2 separate regions of the Homo sapiens genome follow, and region 2 is linked to region 1. The links are contacts of gene promoters, found by promoter capture Hi-C in human tissues and cell types (Jung and others, 2019). All regions are on one chromosome and are shown on one strand. The core of a region is centred on a gene start or on the middle of the fragment in contact, and the rest is flanking DNA. Distances in the headings are between cores, read along the strand shown. Region 1 holds the start of MGST1 (microsomal glutathione S-transferase 1). Region 2 has its middle 12 kb from the start of LMO3.

Region 1 (2,696 bases), core at 80-2,579:
AAATGTTAGAACCATTCAACTAGCATTCTGTAGACCAAATTATCTAAACAGTAGCTCTCCTCTTCCTTTTTCTGCCATGTTATCCATAAGATTTGGCCTGTATCACCTTATAATAAATGAAGAGAGTCTTAAATTCTTATAATACCAAACTCCTTTGGAGAGAATTCAGAATAGATTTATGTCATCTCAAATTCTATCCTATTCCAGTTAATGTTACAGACAGATTCTAGTATACTTTACAAAGATAGGTGAATAAGTAGAGTTTTGAAAAGATACAGACATAAAAGTGAAGAACAGATGCCTTCTGATGCTAGATTTTCCAAAACTCCTACTGTTATGCTTATATAGAAATCATTCTCAGACCTTCCTTGGATTAATTTCTGTTCCTAGAGCAAACTGGTAGTTATTTCTTTCTTTAATAGAACATGAACTTGTCCATCACATCCTAGAAAGTTAGTCCTAGGGATATCCTTTAAAGCCTAAAGGAGTAAATTAAGAGCAAAAAAAGGAAGTAGACCTTGCAACAGGTGGTGAGTGTCTGAGATATAGCACTAGGAGAGAAATAATATAGATTGAAAACAGAAATCCTTAAACATTTCTCATATAAACCCATGAAAGATAGATCCATAAATATTGTGGGGACTATGGGGACTAGGAAGCTTGGAAGTATCCCTAATCTAGATAGTGATGGTAGGCTAAATATCTACGGCTTCCGTAAACGTTCCTCTAAACCTCCCTGTAAAAAACACACTAAGCTGATTGTGTAATGAGCTGATCCAGTACAATTGCCTCCAATTTCATTCTGGACCCTGAACAGGAGGGGACATCGTGACAAAGCAAATTGTCTGGTATCATGAATTTGGAACACCGTAAGTGATCTTTACTGAGGGTTACATTCTGTCATTGTCAGCCTTTTAAGGAGGCCTTGCCACCAGCGCAGGGGAGGTGAAGTCTAAGGGAAGGTAATATTGTCAATGCCTGCTAATTAGTTCTACCCTGGAGATTTTAACTTTCTGCGAAGTTTTTAAAAACAACTTCCAAAACTCTGCTGATCCTGAAATGTTCGAGAATTCAGAGTTCCTAGACAATGGCTACTGTCCCCCTTCCCACTGATTAGGGGAGTTGGCATTTCAGGAACCAGAGTTTCTAAGGGCGCCAAATAGAAGGGCTCAAAGGGAATCAGCAGGCGATGGTTACTGTGGGCGGGTAAATCAGGTGATTTAGAGGAGGGGTTTGGCGAGGTTGGGGTCGGGCTTTAAACGTGGGAGGGCTAATTAACAGGAGATTAACTGGAGAGGGGCGGTGCCTGCGTCCGGCCCGCGCGGCCACAGTCCCTGCATTGCGCGCGACCCGGCGGCGGGACAGGCTTGCTGCTTCCTCCTCCTCGGCCTCACCGTGCGTACTGGGAGGGGAGAAGGGGACCGCATGCAAAGGGTGGCAGGCAGGGAGGGCCAGGGTGGGTGGCAGATGGAAGACTTGGGGGGGTCTCTGCCAGCTGGAAGTGCTTGGCTCCACTTAGCAGCTAAACTTAGCTTTTCAATCGATCGCTTTTGAAAGGGAATTGTATTTCTGTCCCCGTGCGGGTAAGTTTTCCCATTTCTCAAACTCCAGGAATGAAACGAGAGAGTCTTTTCATGCTTGAGTGATGATTTCCAAACTTAGCCTTTTCAAGTCAAAGTAACCTCCTGTTTGAAAGGGTCCCTTGAACTCTGGGGAAGGAGGAAAAGGCACGTGTAGTAATGGAGGAAATGCCTGTAGTTTGAACGACTGCTGTTCTCCCCAAGAGTGCAAAAGCCTGCGATGTCTCAGGTTTCATGGGCATAGTGGCCTTTATGCCTATTGTAAGGCAGGATTTGCTCTTCTGAGTTCACTTTGATAGGAGAAACATCAGCAAGTTTTAAAATAATACTAAATAATACTACTGCTAATAATGCTAGCTATCGAAACAAGAGGATGTGGGTTAGATGATAATATTTTTGTGTGATATTATAGCCAGTGACAAGAGAGCTAAGGGTGAGCCCCTTGGGACGGTTCTCACCTGTGCCCCACTTCCCCAGTCTGGAGGAGGAAGCCATGTGGAAGGAGAAAAGGAGAAGGGAACTCTCTTTTTCGGGAATTAAGGTGTCATATATTGCTCTAGCTGGCTTGGGACAGAGGAGAGAGGAGTGCATGTAAATCTTCTAGTCTCTCTGCTTCTCTTGAAATGTGGCAGTCTGAGCTCCACGTTTATATTCCCCTATTTCTTCTCCCTAATTTCTTACCCAGTGAGTGCTGAGTGGGTGCCCGCAAGCATTGCTGTATAGCACCCAGGCCTCCAGTGAGCAATCCTTAAAGCCCAGTTTTCCTGGGGTCCCAGCCTGCTGTGAGTCCCAGCCTACACCTACCTTTTGCATATGCTTTTCTTGGCCTTAGGATAGTACTGGACTTTGTTGTCCTCTGCTGTTTCCAAAATAAGAGGGCTATGTGTGCGATTATCTTTGGTAATTAAAAAAAAAAAAAAAAAAAAGGCAAATCAGTCCAAATTTGGATATTACCCTCTCTGGCAGACGAGTAAAATTTTTCTACCGCTTTGTTTTAGAGTGGTGTCTATGAATCCCTGAGATTGGAAAAGGAGGTCAGGTCAGCACAGAGAAAGGCCTTACCCCACCACTCTCCCGAGAGGCACCAGCATTTCACCTGCAGCCTCTGGGCTCTGA
Region 2 (2,696 bases), core at 75-2,574, 270 kb after region 1:
TATTGTGAACCAAGAATTTCATATCTACACAATGTATTTTCTTATGTAAAAACCATTTAAGGATGGTTTGTATGTATAAAAGATCAGCAAAATGAATATTTATGTACATTTACAAAACAAATGACTTGAAAGATTGCTCTAAATTAATCTAAAAGAATCAGATTTTAAAACCCAAACATGGGAGGGTCATGGCACAAAAGGATTGGGAGTTTTGCCTTTATCTATTTGGATCAAAATTTTAGGTGCAATGTTAGATATTTCATCAAGCAGTAGAGTATTTCTGTAATCCTGTGATTTCATTTGATTCTCTTCAACTCCGACCGCTTCCCCATCACCAGGAAATATATTTCTCATGTCTCATTGCAAACCTCACAGTTCAGATGGAGCCTCTTGTTAGGTCCAACGACCTAGGAAACTAACTAGCACTTGCGAGATGTCCAAAATATCATACAGTTGGCCCTCTGTAACTGTAGGTCCCATATCCATGGATTCAGCCAACTACAGATAAAAAATATTCGGAAAAAACTGCATTTGTACTTAACATATACAGACATACTCTTGTTGTTATTCCCTAAACAACTATTGCCATTGTATTTGGTATTACAAGTAATCTAGAGATTATTTAAAGTATGCAGGAAAATGTGCATAGGTTATACACAAATACAACACCATTTTATATCAGTGACTACAGCATTTGCTGTTTTGATATTTGCGGGAGGTCTTGGAACCAATTCTACATGGATACTCTGGGACAACTGTATTTACATGGCTGAGAATTATGCTTGATAGTTTCTGTTTGCTATCTATATGGCAATATATTGTCAACTTTTTAAAATCATTTATTTCTCTCATTAATGAGGCCTTTATCACGACTAGATTTGTTTTACAGATTAGGAAATTTAGGATGCTTGGCCAACTTTCTCAAGACACCACACTAAGTAAGAAATAAATTTGAACTTACATTTTCTGACTTCAAATCAGATATGTGCTCCATATCTTGCCTAACATAGGACTGCTTCATAGATTTTTAGAAAATGGTAATTTGTATTTTTTTTTGGTTGTATACCATCATTTGAGTTGAAAAAAGGAAACAATCTTCATGTCACTTAATACTTCAATCAGTTTAACCTTATTGTTCAACTCTCAAGTGTACAATTATTGTGCATAATGGTATTAATATGTAAAAAATTACTTTTCTAATATTCAGTTGATATGACAGTAGGTTCCAAACTGCTTTTTTGACATCTATTTGTTTGATTACTCTGAATCAGATAGTTTAGCATTACATTTTTTGGAAAGAAATATGAGGACCCTTAGTTAGCTACAGTAAAGCTTTTTTTTAAACAATAAATTTTGATATAATTTCAAACTTACAGAAAAATTGCTGAAACAGTACAAGAAACTCCTATATACCATTTACCCAAATTCAACAATTATTTGTATGCTGCCTCATTTACTTTATAAATCTCTGTCTCCCTCTTCATATGTATACATACATGCAAATTTTCCTTTAAATATTTGAGAATACATTGGAGACATTGTGCCCCTCTACCCTTGAATAGTTTATCATGTGTTTCTGGGAAAACAAGAGCAAAAAATGAAATCTCTATGTTCTCTGAAGTAGTTAAAACCCAATTATAGAAATCAGAAAAACTTAACATCCATAAAATACTATTATCTAATTCACAGTCCATACACAAAATTCATCAATTATCCCATTAAGATCCTTTATAACCCACCCCATTCTGTCTCCATCCAGGATACAATTCAGCATCAGGCACTGCATTTAGTTATCATATCTCTTCTTTTCTTTCTTTATGGAGAAGCTTGAAGTCCAAAACACATTTCTTCTTATGGCCAGTAAAGTTTGGAGGCAGACCAGTTGTTCACCATCCTGGTTTACATTTAGACTTATCTGGGGAAATCTGCAAAGCCGTTTTACTATTCCCACACTACCCTTGCTGACTCAGAATCCCAGGGAAGGAATTGCCCCAGAACTCATATTTGTTTTTTTTTATTCTTCAAAAGATCTAGTCATTCTGATGATCAGCTAGCTTTGAAATCCCTGAGGTCAACCAATGCTAAACTTGGAGAAGGAGAGCAACACTGCTGAGGCTAGCCAGAGAGGCAATATTAGAGAGAGAGAGAGAGAAGAAAGATGACAGGAGAGAAGAGGAATGACAGAGAGGAATCAGAGGCATGTCATAGAAGGTGGAAGCTTTTCCAGTAGGTACTTAAGAATATTTACCCCAAAACGACCACTAGTAAAGACAGCTCTGGAAAGAGTAAAACAGAGACCCTTTTGGCTTTCATAATTTTAAGATATCTGTAAGCAGCTTGTTTCTTGAACAATTATAACCTATTTGGCAAGAAAACATTTCTGTAACCATGTAAATCTGAAGAACAAAATTAGTGTAATTACCTTCTCATCACCTTTAATATATGAAAATTCATCATAAATCTGCAAAAGTACAAAGTATTTCCCCAATTTGCTTGACATCACCTTTCTGGAGGCATGCCTGTTAGTTAACACCTCCACTTCACTGCCTAAGTGACTTTAGAAGTTGCATTAGATTCTGAAAAACTGCACCATGTAACTCAGGTAAATTTTGGTAAAGACATTCATAAGGGCAAAATTATAAAGAAATATCTTTTCTCTAACTGTTTTTAGTTTAGGATTACATATAAGCAAAGAA

Evidence for each region. Contacts are between HindIII fragments. The study calls those that stand out against the background at their distance.
Region 2: a contact is called between a fragment that was not itself captured here and the fragment with the promoter of MGST1 in region 1, in 1 of the 25 tissues and cell types used here (heart left ventricle).

Annotation. Positions count from the first base shown.
Region 1 is chr12:16,346,316-16,349,011 of GRCh38, forward strand. It overlaps MGST1 (microsomal glutathione S-transferase 1), which reads left to right and starts at 1,330. Exons shown (of 4, transcript NM_020300.5): 1 at 1,330-1,395. RefSeq lists enhancers at 420-1,349, 2,280-2,696. The HindIII fragment of the contact is 4,760 bases long and covers 1-2,696 here.
Region 2 is chr12:16,616,472-16,619,167 of GRCh38, forward strand. No RefSeq gene overlaps it. Among named protein-coding and RNA genes, the nearest start is that of LMO3, 12 kb to the left of the region's middle. The HindIII fragment of the contact is 3,053 bases long and covers 1-2,696 here.